Regions from separate parts of the Homo sapiens genome. Here region 2 is linked to region 1. Evidence: promoter capture Hi-C in 16 types of primary human blood cells and fetal thymus (Javierre and others, 2016). All regions are on one chromosome and are shown on one strand. Each heading gives the region's core, a stretch centred on a gene start or on the middle of the fragment in contact. The rest is flanking DNA. Distances are from core to core; before and after follow the strand shown. Region 1 holds the start of STK39 (serine/threonine kinase 39). Region 2 overlaps SPC25 (SPC25 component of NDC80 kinetochore complex).

The links. Contacts are between HindIII fragments. The CHiCAGO score rates a contact against its expected background, and 5 or more counts as called.
Region 2: a contact is called between a fragment that was not itself captured here and the fragment with the promoter of STK39 in region 1, in 1 of 17 cell types (total CD4 T cells). The highest score is 6.0, in total CD4 T cells.

Annotation. Positions count from the first base shown.
Region 1 is chr2:168,242,331-168,248,973 of GRCh38, forward strand. STK39 (serine/threonine kinase 39) reads right to left here and starts at 5,265. Exons shown (of 18, transcript NM_013233.3): 1 at 4,898-5,265. The coding sequence starts at 5,105. LOC107985959 (a long non-coding RNA gene) reads left to right here and starts at 5,631. Exons shown (of 5, transcript XR_007087282.1): 1 at 5,631-5,738. RefSeq lists silencers at 4,151-4,350, 4,371-4,460, 4,551-4,600, 4,961-5,010, 5,221-5,470. The HindIII fragment of the contact is 2,511 bases long and covers 3,571-6,081 here.
Region 2 is chr2:168,874,881-168,880,855 of GRCh38, forward strand. It overlaps SPC25 (SPC25 component of NDC80 kinetochore complex), which reads right to left. Exons shown (of 7, transcript NM_020675.4): 4 at 2,358-2,504; 5 at 1,192-1,296. Among named protein-coding and RNA genes, the nearest start is that of SPC25, 13 kb to the right of the region's middle. The HindIII fragment of the contact is 528 bases long and covers 2,719-3,246 here.

The DNA.
Region 1 (6,643 bases), core at 4,015-6,514:
GCAGGCGGGTTACTTCAGACCAGGAGTTTGTGACCAGCCTGGCCAACATGGTGAAACCCTGTTTCTATCAAAAAATACAAAAATTAGCCAGGCCTGTAATACTAGCTACTCGGGAGGCTGAGGCAGGAGAACTGCTTGGACCTAGGAGGCAGAGGCTGCAGTGAACTGAGATGGCGCCACTGCAATCTAGCCCAGGCAACAGAGCAAGACTCTTACAAAAAAAAAAAAAAATATATATATATATATATATATATATATATATATATAAAGAGGCCAGGCACAGTGGCTCACGCCTGTAATCCCAACACATTGGGAAGCCAAGGCCGGAGCATCGCTGAGCGGAGGAGTTCAAGAGCAGCTTGGGCAACATAGTGAGACCCCCATTTCTTAAAAATAAAAAAAGAAAAAAAAAATTAGGCAGGCATGATGGTTTGCACCTATAGACCCAGCTACTCAGGAGGCTGATGTGGGAAGATCACTTGAGCCCAAGAGTTCGAGGCTGCAGTGAGGTATGATTGCACCACTGCACTCTAGCCTGGGTGACAGAGTGAGACCCTTTATCAAAAAAAAAAAAATACAAAATACAAAAGAACATTTCTATATACATTTTTCTATTTATTAAAAAAGAAAGTGAAATGAAATGAAAATCAAAGCCCTGTCTTGAGACAAAGCATTTCAGACATCATTTAGTATTTTAAAAACAACAACAAACAAACTAATCAAGATCAAAGAACCCACTGCAGCAGCAAGGCAGCCTGGTATAAAGGTCTGGGAGATCAGAACACACTCAGTGCTCCGGCTCCCTTACCCTAGCGCCAGCGAAGGTACCACTGTCCTCAAACTGCCTCTAGGATATCTATAAAAACCAATTCTAACCCCCAAACCATAGAAATCCACAGAAACTCTGAGAGCACAGAGCAAAGTGGGAATGCCCAGGGCTATTTACAATCTCATTTTACAAGAGGCTGTTGCTCCTTAAAGACCTGGCCATATGTGCTATTACCTGGACCTGAGTAAAACGCACCTGAATGGATAAACAATGCCTCACAGGAGAGAAATAAAGCATTCAAAGGAACCCTCTGTCAAACCATGTCCAGGATTCTAGAACTCAAATTCTTCGTGTTGACTAAGATGGCAATTTGTTACTTTTAGGTCATTCTAAATGACCACCCGGGACAAAAGTGAAGCAATGCTGAGAAATCTAGTATAAAACTACATAAAGAAAGGTGCATCCTGCAAAAACCCTAAGAAAATCAAACAAACTCCTGCTGAGGCAGGAGTCTAGGGTTTCTCAGAAGAAATTCAGCAAAGATAACAACATTGCTGGAATCACCTAATTCAAATACAGAAATTAGTACTTCAATGACTACAATTCTTTGAATGAGAAGTTCATTGAGGCTGCTCCATTCCATTACGGATGGCCAAGTAAACACTTATATGATTCACTTTCATTCCCTGTTTAGCAAATCTAGGTAATATTATTAACACCCCCAACAAATAAACTAAGTTTTCAACTGGCATAGCTTTAAGTGCCCCTTATACTTCTAAAGGTAGGGGTACCTACTTTTGGGGGCTCAACTCACCCCCAAATTCCTTCTTTAGAGAGGTAAGGAACAAAGATTAACAAGGCTGAAGAGTATAAACAGGTCGGAAAGCCTCCAAAAAGACAGAAATATTTGAAATCTACTAAGACAAGGATATCAATGTCTGGAAGAAGGAATTTAATAATTTCCAACATTTTTAACCCCTCTGTAAATATAAAGCTCCCTCCCATCGATTTTACATCATTTCCAGGTCATGAATAAACTTATGAACCAGAATACTCCTAAGAGCATTACAATTTCTCCACTGACGTTTTAAAACACAAGAACAACAATACAATAAAGAGAAAACTTTATTTTTAGGTTTGCAAAATCCTGTGTTTATTTTTCTAAAACTGAAGTCAAACAACTGAACCTGCTTTGTTTGGATTTTAGTAAACTTATTCTCTCTTAATCCTGGGGGACCAAACTCTGCCCAGAAGGAAATGAAGAAAAAGTCCTCCGTGCCCGTGCCATGCTGGAAAGTTAAAACACGGTGCCTCCTTTGGTTTTCTGTTCAGGCACATCTGAGCCTCCTGCTGCTGGTCACGGTTCACACTGCTGGAGTCATATCATATGACACCTGCCGTATGGCGGGTAGAAGCAAAGGCTGTCAACTGGCATTCATGTTGAAACTGGTTCAGTGTTTGAACTGCTAACTTCTGCGTGTAATGTTTAAGCAAAAGTGCTTAACCACAAGTTCAGTCTTAATCTCTCAACTAGCATTAAACCCTAAATGGAAACAGGTTTGTAATTCCTTATAAACATTAAGCCCTTGCGAAAAACCTATTCCAGCAATTTGATTTTTCAATAACAGGGCCTCCACACAGGCCAACTCTTTCTCTTTTAGTTGGGAAAATATGAGATAAACTTTAAATGTAGAAAAGCCCTTCCCACAATGCAAATGCGCAAAAGTCAGGGTAGAATAAGCAGGTGTTTTTGTTCTCAAATTCCTCAGGTAAATTTCTTTTTTTCCACTAAACTGACCAACCATAATTAACACTGCTGGGACTGCAAACAGAAAGAAGTCCTGCCATTAATCCCACTCAACTTAAACTAAGATTTTATTAGTTCACAAAAAAATACTGTTTTCAAAAGGCAACGTTTGTATTTTAACCCTAATAATTGACCAAGTAGGTATATAAATTGATTATAACTTCTCCCAATCCTATGGACTCTATGGAGAATTATGTGGCAGATACCATTATTCAACTTTTATGGCCCACCTCTTCCTGTCAGAGTTCACAGCTGGTTAGTGAAGGCAACAGTGGAAATAATTAAGCACCTTACAAACTCAGACTTAAAACCCAGCTCAACTACGACCTCTACTAAGAAATACTCTGCTTCCTTCTCTTTCCTGGCAGTCACTCCCTCCTTCGGGCTCTCCCAGTACTTACTCATCACATCCTATAGGATCCTTTCCCTATGTCTCCTAACAACTTAGGGCAGGGATCACTTTTGTTAATTTCTATATTGCTAGCAAGTGGGGCAATGCTTGGGACACAGCAGGCCTTCAGATCTTGTTGCGCAAATAACAACTATGAGGTTACATGCTATGAGGTCTGTAAAAAGAGGGGCAGAAGAAACCACGGCATTTTGCCTTGAAAGAAGCAGAAGGCTTTTCAAGGAATATTCACACTCACCTTGGAAGCGGAGTGAGATTTAGTACACAAAGATGGGCACTCACAGGAGGGAAGAGCCTCTGCAAGGCAGCAAAGAATGGAAGACCAGATGTGCGGAAGACAGCGGTGTATTCAGGAAGCAATCACTGAAGAGTAGACAATGGGAGGAGGCAGGCAGGTTGAGGGTACAGGGCCTATATGCCAGGTTAAAGAGGTTTCCATGGAATATTCCAGGCTTTGAGAAGCCCCTGAAGCTATTTCAGGCAGTGACATGAAGACTCATCCCTTTAGAGTCTTTGGTCAAAAATTATGAAAGATCTGGGTTTTCAAAGAATTTTGTCTACAGATGCCTATTATAGGTTATCTGAAGCTTGTATATATCCTAGGTTACGGACCTGCCCAACATTTTCTCACATATTTTTATGTATATATTTATATATATATTTCCGTCTATGCTGTTTTATTCCCCAATAGCAGGTGATAAAGGCTCATTTAAACACCTAGTGAAATTTTTATATCTGTTTTAATTTTTTTAAAAGGAGGTGAAGAATTTTTTGAAGTGAAAGTTAGAAAAAATACTTAAGATAAATATTCTGAACTCCTTTTTCATCGCTGTACTTATATACCAAGATTCTGGAAAGGCAACATCCCATCCCTGCGTCAGTAAGGTTAGACGCTGAGGGCCCACTTAACCTGGAGGCTTCCCTAAGTGACAAGACTCTCAAACTGGATGATCCAATAGGGAAGGTTCTAAGTCAAGGGACAAAACAAATCTCCTGGCCCTTCAAGTGCTTGGCCCAAGGAAAAGTAACGCCGAGCCCTGCGACTCTGCCAGGTATTTAAAAATGTAAGATAAGGTGATATTTGTGAGCCGGCCAGAAGGCAACGAAAGGCAGAGAGCAGATCACCGGCAGCCTCGGATTTCACTCTTGCAGCTCGGCCTGAAACAGAGGGAAGCATCGGCCCGGTGCAGGGCAGGAGGCCAGGGCACCCGCTTTCCCCGGGGAGCCGGACTGGGCGGCAGGCGGCGCACCCTGGCACGGAGGGAGGCGGGTACCCGGGCGCGCCGAGTGGCGCGGAGAGCCGGGCTGCAAGGCGGGCGTGGAGTGGCGGCTGTCAGGAAGAGAGGCCAGCATCCTCCCCGGCCTCAGAAAAGCACTGGGGCCTCCGCGGCTTCTACGTGGCCCCGTTACCCACGACGAGAGGGTCACGACGGGAGGCAGAGGAGCGGCTGCGCCCGCAGAGTCCCCCAGGACGCGGCCCCCGGGGCCCTGGAAACCCAGGGCGGGGCCCCCGCAACCACACCCCACCCGCGGCTGCCTGTCCGCGTGGCCACCGGCCACGGGCTGCGGTCCCGGCACGCGGGGGGAGGAAGATGCGGCGGCGCCGCCTGGTCCTCCGCTCCACCGCCCCGGCGATCCCTGAGATAAAAGTTTGCAGCATGCGGCTCGTCTGCAGTGCGAGTCACATCCGCCGCGCCGCCTCCTGCAGCACCAACGCTCATAGAACGAACAAATACATTAAAAATTAAAAAAAAAAAAAAAAAAAAAAAAAAAACTGTTGAAGCCAGTAGGCCCCGAAGCCGGCCTCTCTGCCTCCAGGGCGTGCATGCAGGCTAGCCCAGCATCCCGCGCCCCCTCCCGCCCGGCCTCGGCGCCCGGCCTGTGCCGGCCCCGCCGCGCCCGCCGCACTGACCGATAACCTCCTGCAGCTCGTACGCGTCCCTGCAGATGGGCCAGCCGACAGCCTGTGCCGCCGGGGCCGGGGCCGGGGCCGGGGCCGCGGGAGCTGCCGGGGCCGGCGCTGCTGTCGCGGCCGCCGGGGCCGCCGCCGCCGCCGCTGTCACCGGGGCCGCCTGCTGGGGAAGCTGGACGTGCACGGGCGAGCCGCTCGGCTCCGCCATGATGCTGCGGAGGAGAGCAGGAGGACGCGCCGGCCGACGGACGACCTTCCACTTGAAACTTCCTTTGCCTCGCCGCCGACACCTCTCGGCCGGCGCACGCCCTCCCCGCCCGCCGCCGCCGCCGCCGTCCCCGCCGAAGCCAGCTAGGAGGGGAGGGAGCAAGGGAGGCCGAGCTGGGCGGAGGGAGGAGGCAGCGCCGGCGGAGGCGGGGAAGGGAGGAGGCGGCGGCCGCTGCGCTCGCCGCGCGCCCAGAGCCTAGCGCGCGCTGTTCTCCGCCTCGGCGAGGGGAACCGCCGCCCCCCCTCTCCGCCGCCCCCTCCCGCTCCCGCTCCGCTGGCGGCCGGGGAAGTTCCCACCAAAGGAGTCAGGCCGCTTTGTGTGTGCTTTCGGGGCCACCGGCCCTGGTTCTCCTCCTCCCTCCCTGCTCGCCCTGCGCCTTGGCCCCAGACGATCAGGCTTGCCGGAGGACGCCCCCTGGGGACCCCGAGGGCGGGGTCGTTGAACGGCCGCCAGGTTCTCACATTCAGAATTCTCCTGCCACCAAAGAGAACCTGAAGTTCATTTACAAGTTGACGAGCGGGATACCTACATGGTGTCCCTTTGCAAGACGCCAGTTAGAAAATAACCCAAGTTGTAAGTTTCCGGCGCTTTACTTGCCGGTATCCCTTTCCCACCTTGCCTAATCTAATCGCAGTCCTTCTAGTTTTTCTTAGTAAATGAAACTTGATTCCTTAGGTCTCTGGCTGTTCAGACTTCATTTTTTCCAAGCCGCCTGGATCCCAGGGAGGCGATTTAAGGGGCTGTGGAATTAGAATAAGACATGCAGGAGAGGTTTAGAAAGTTTGCTCAAATTCTACACCCTTAATAATTGCCACGTTAGCCCGTGAGGACACTGAGGCCAGACATCAGGCGTTTCTTTAAGAGCGTATACTTGGTGGGGAAATAATTTATTGGGGCATGAATAAACTGTGTTGGAAGCTTTTAATTGCTGTTTTTTCAACACCCCAAAAATAACCTCGTCTGTAAAACTGCTATGGTAAAACCATAGGTTTTCCTAATTATAGGTGTCATATTTAACAGTGAATGTTCTCTGTGTTCCCTCCGTGGAGGTGACCAGGATCCACCGTTCTTGTCTCCAACTGAAACGGGGCAGTAAACCAATAGTATTGGTCGTTTGGCCAAGATGATCTTGTCTGGTTCTCATTGCTAGGACTGCTGAAGAAATAGGTAAGAATAATGAGGATGTAATAAAAACTCTAGGGATATCATGATTTTGTCTCCCGAGTGTATGTACAGAAATCTCACTAAAATTTTTGAAAGATTATTCAGAAGAAGCCCAGAAATTTATTAGGAAAGTTAGTTGTCTAATCAAAACATTGATGTCCACTGAAGATGAGGGCACTTAATCTCTTGGAGCATTACAAAAGTTGGAGTAAAGCAGCTACCTCGCTCTGGTCTTGAAGCAGAAGTTCATGCTGAACTAAGTGTACATTCTTTGATGCGGAGGACTTCAAAAACTGTGTCTTGTCATGTCTGTC
Region 2 (5,975 bases), core at 1,733-4,232, 630 kb after region 1:
TTTGCTGATTCTGTTCTGTATCCTTTTGCTGCAGTAAATCTTAGCTATGAATATGACTATATGCTAATTCCTTCTAGTGAATCACCAAACCTGAGAGTGATCTTGGGAAGCCCAGACACAACAGACATTGCCATACATTAGCGATGTACATGTGATATACATGCAACAGGCATCAAAATATTCATGTGTTTTAGCCTACTAATTCCTCTCTGGGAAACAATTCTATGAAAAACCATGCAAAGAAAATGGGAAAGTCTATGCTCACTGGTTTACAATAGTCCCCCTTTATCCACCAGGGAGAAATATGTTCCAAGACCCCAACAGATGCCTGAAACCGTAGATAGTAGCAAACACTATGTAAACAGATGCTCCTTGACTTACAATGGCATTATGTGCCAATAAACACATCAAAAGTCAAAAACATTGTAAGGCAAAAATGCATTTAACACCCTGATAAACTGATTATAAAGTCAAAAAATTGTAAGTTGAACTATCATAAGTCAGGGACTGTCCATACTATGTATTTTCCTATACATTCATACCTATGATAAAGTTTATGTTGTAAATTAGGCACAGAAAGAGATTAACAACAACTAATAATAAAACAGAACAATTACAACAACGTACTGTAATAAAAGTTATATTAATGTAGCTTCTCTCCCTCTCACAATATCTTATTGTACCATACTCATCCATTTAATATCATCAGACCACGGTTGAACATGGGTAACAGAAACCGTGAATAAGTGGGGATGACTGTATTTCTAAAACTGAAAAAAATGGCAGAATCCAAATGTTGGTAGAAGCAAAATATGTGCTAAACAATAGGTAAATGGTTGAATAAATTATGCTATATTAATAGAATGAATTATTACATCACTACTTAAAAATTACCATTATGAAGACTATAGCAACTGAGGAAATGCTCAGAATACAATGCTGATAGGAAGAACAAAAATTATTTGCATGTTGACAATCATGCCAAAAATACATTTATTAAAATACCGAATGATAAATAACTACAGCATCAGTAGCTACATTAGAATAATTTAAAAATTGTAATTTTTTCCTATTTTCTAAAAAGTTAATGTGGTCATTATTTTAGTTGAAAATATTTTTAAAATTTTCCTCTACTTAAGAAAAGACATACTTTTGTAATCTCCTATATTTTATTTATATTAACAAACTTACCATAAATTTTTCGAATTTCTAGTCCAAGTCGATCTTTATACAAGTCTGCAGATTTCTGCAGCCTTTTCAACCTCTCTGCATTCGCTTTATTAGCAGTAGAAATAGCTGATTAAAAAACACACACAATATTAAATGTTTTAAATAATAGCAAATTAATGCTCACTGAGTTAATTTTTTAAACTTAAAATCAACTATAAAATGATGCCAAGCCTATAAATCTGCTTCCATTTATTGTTTCTATATCTACCAGTTGGCTAAAAGAAGCTTCTGTTCATTCAAGTTGGAAGGAAAAACTGCTCAGGAAAATGTATACAGATAGTGAGAAGAATAAGCCTTGTCTTACTTTATTATGTAGTAGCATAAGTAAATAGGCCAGGGATTTGTATGGCTGGCATAGAAATAGACTTCATTTATACTACTGTGCTTTTTTTCTAGATAACCAATTGCTTCATGGGAAAATGTTCTCTTCCTTTAACATAACTATTTCTTATGAGAGGTCAGCCTTATTTCATGCTAGTTTAGTTTTTTCTTTTTTTTTTTTTTAAGTTAGCACAATAGTCCCTAAATATACTTTAAAGTAGCACAATAGTCCCTAAGTAATGAGAAAAATAATTTCACAATTTAGACTTGGATAAGAACTCCACAAGAAAAAGCATTTACAAAACAAACTTTGCTATTTTCAGATTTGAAGAATAGACTACCTAGTTTGTGAGCAAACAAGGCTCCTTTCTAAAAGATGCATTCATTTGAATATGAAAGTTCTTTATACATAAGAGATTTTGCAGCATAAAAAGAACGCTTAACATTACCTGGCAGAGAATGTATGGTCAATAAATATTTGTTGCATAAAGTACACTATGGCTTGTCCAAAGCAAATTTTATTTAGGGACACCATTTCTCACTCTGCTTAATTAAAACCTCCTATCAATTTCATTATTACTGATTATATTAAAAATAACAAGAGAAGGCCCTTTAAGTAAGACAAAAGAAAATAAAACCCAGTTAGTTAACTTTAATGACATCTTGCAGAGATGAGTGGCTGGTTATGCCCTGGGGTACTGTAATCCATTTTTAGCAATGAACTGGAACAGGCAAGATGTACTTAATAAAGGTGAACCGTCACCACTTTCCATTTTAGATCAGTATGTTTATAAGAGGAAACTTACTTTCCTTCTTCCTAGAATATTCTTCCTTAAGATCCTGGATATTTGCAGTCAGTACTTCCAATTCCTGCTTTTTGCCTTTTACTTCAGCAATCAATTTTAACAAGTTATCCTTTTTTTCTTGAATGAGCTTATTTTGCCTGCTGATCTCTGTAAGAAGCACAAGGTATTAGCTAGAATATGCTTGGCTCTCTGACATGTATCTAAGAAAAGGCCAAAGTTTACTGACTTTCATAAAGATTAATAAAGAATGTTTTGACTGATAAGCATTTTCTAATGATTCAAAATTATAAAAGACAAAAAAGAAAAAAAACCTAATCTATTCTTTCCTACTTACTCATCTTTAAAAAAAATGAGACAGAAAAGCTTCTTAAAATGAGAATACCAAATTAAATCAAGAAACAGAAAATCAAAAGATCATGACCCTTGCAGCTCCCCACTCCAAATAAGCACAGAAATAAAAACTACCAACAAAGATAACTAAACTCTATTATTTATTTTATTTTTATATTTTTTTGAAACAGGGTCTCACTGTTGCCCAGGCTGGAATACAGTGGCACAATCACTACTCATTGCAGCCTCCCACCTTAGCATCCCTAGTACCTGGGACTACAGGCACACACCACATCACGCCTGGCTGATTTTTAAATTTTTTTGTCTCACTATGTTGCCCAGGCTAGTCTCAAACTCTTAGGCTCAAGCAATCCTCCTACCTCAGCCTCTCAAAGTGCTGGGATTACCAGTGCAAGCCACCACGCCTGGCCAACAACCAAACTCTAGAAGATGGTTTTAAACAGTGCTTTGAGGAAAAGCCTCACTCTAATGCTATATAAATTATTCCGGAACATACCAAAAGACAGAAATAAGTGAAGGAAGACAGGTGGGCAGGCAAAGCTTACAATGTAAGCATAATTCTAAAGCTAAAACAAAAAATTAAAGATAGCACTGGCCCTCTGCCCACAACTATATAAACTAATCTCACTTAAAAACATAGGTGCAAAGATGCTCAATAAAATATTAAGTTACATTAAAAATAATCCACTAAGAGCAAATATAGTTTATACCAAGGATTTTACATAGTGAAGGTGTAATATTAGGAAAATCCATCACATGAATAAGAATTGAAGAGACATTTCATATGAATTCAGCATCCACTCCTGACTATTCTTAACTATAAATGGAAGGACATTTAACATGATAGAAACAAATCAAAAACCTTTCAAATCTCATCATATATATTTGGCATTTCCAAAAGGAATAAAATAGATGCCAGTTAGCACTGTTATTTAATATTTCCCTAGAAGTTTCTGGCCAAGACAAGATATTTAGCTGGTAAAACTATAAGGAAAAAACAAGAACTATTTTTCATTATATGTAGACAATAGACATCTATCTAGAATACTCAGAAAAATCTACTGAAAACCTATCAGAATTTGTGGTACTACACCCCAAAAAAATCAATAGTTTTTGTACATAACACCAGTGATTAATACATAGGTAAGAATAGATGTTTATACTAATATTAATAGCTGCAATATTCGTTTTTGTTCTTTGTTTTTATTGGTTTTATTAGTTTTTGCTATTCTGTGCTATTTTTAAGTACTGGCATACGTTGGAGATATTGCAAGTTCTATTCCAGATCACTGTGATAAAGCGAATATTGCCATAAAGCAAGTCACACAAATGTTTTGGTTTCCCAGTACATAGAAAAGTTATTTTACACTATATTGTAGTCTATTAAGCGTGCAATAGCATTATGGCTAAAAAACAAATGTACATATCTTAATTAAAAATATTTTATTGCTAAAATATGCTAATAATCATCTGAGCCTTCAGCAAGTCCTAAACTTTTGCAGGGGGAGGGTCTTGCCTTGATGTTGATGGCTGCTGACTGATCAGAGTGGTAGCTGCTGAAGGTTGGGGTGGCTGTGGCAATTTATTATAATAGGACAACAATAAAGTTTGCTGCATTAATCAACTCTTTCATGAAAGATTTCTCTGCAGCATACAATGATGTTTGACAGCATTTACCCCTGGTAGAACTGTTTTCAAAATTGGAGTCAGTCTTCTCAAACCCTGCGCTACTTTATCAACTAAGTTTATATAATAGTCTAAATCCTTTGTTGTCAGTTAAACAATGTTCACAGCATCTTCACCAGGAGTGGATTCCATTCCATAAAACCACTTTCTTTGCTTATCCATAAGAAGCAACTCCTTATCCATTCAAGTTTTATCTGAGATGGCAGCAATTCGGTCACATCTTCAGGCTCCACTTCTAAATCTAGGTCTCTTGTGATTTCTACCACATCTGTAGTTACTTTCTCCATTGAAGTCTTGAACCTCTCAAAGTCATCCATGAGGGTTAAAATCAACTTCTTCCAAGCTCTTGTTCATGTTGATATTTTGACCTCTTCCTGTGAATCACGAATGTTCTATGGCATCTAGAATGGTGAATCCTTTCTCTGGAAGGTTTTCAATTTATTTTGCCCAGATCTATCAGAGTTAATCACTATTTGGGTAGCTATAACCTTATTTCTTAAATAATGAGACATGAAAGTCAAAACTACCCCTTGATCCATGGGCTGCAGAATGGATGTTGTCTTAGTAGGCATGAAAACAACACTAATCTCCATCAGCGCTCTTGAGTGACCAGATGCACTGTTAATGAGCAGAAATATTTTGAAAGCCATCTTTTTTCCTGAGTAGAAGGCCTCAACAGTGGGCCTAAAATATTCAGTAAACTATGCTATACACACATGTGCTGTCATCTAGGCTTTGCTATTCCATTTATAGAACATAGGCAGAGTAGATTTAGTATAATTCTTAAGGGCCCTAGGATTTGGGGAATGGCAAGTGAGCACAGGCTTCAACTTAAAGTCACCAGGTGCATTAGTCACTAAAGAGTCAGCCTGTCTTTGAAGCTTCAAAGCAGGCCTTGACTTCTCTCTAGCTATGAAAGTCCTAGATGGCATCTTCTTCCAATAGAAAACTGCTTTTTCATCTACATCAAAAATCCGTTCTTTAATGATCTGTTCATTCAATGATCTTAGCTAGATAACTTGCTGTAGCTTCTACATTAGCACTTCTGCTTCATCTTGCATTTTTATTTTATGGAGGCAGCTGCTTTCCTTAAACCTCAAGAACCAACTTCTGCTAGCTTCAAACTTTTCTTCTGAAACTTCCTCATCTTTCTCAAGCCTTCACAGAATTGAAGAGGGCTAGAGTCTTACCCTGAATTAGGCTTTTGCTTAAGGGAATGTTGTGGTTTGTTTGCTCTTCTATTAAGGCCACTAAAATTTTCTCTAACAATAAGGCTGTTTCTCTTTCTTATCATTCGTGTGTTCACTGAATTAGCACTTTTGCTAATTGGCGCAAGAGGCCAAGCTTTCAGCCTATCTCAGCTTTTGACACACTTTCCCACTAAGCTTAATCATTTCTAGCTTTTGATTTAAAGTGAGAGACCTATGACTCCTTCTTTCAGTTGAACAATTAGAGGTCACTATAGGGTTATTAATTGGCCTAATTTCAATACTGGAGACTAGGGAGGCCCAAGGAGAGGAAGAATGACAGGAATGGCTGGTCAGCAGAGCAGTCAGAAGTCATTCAACATTTATCCATTAA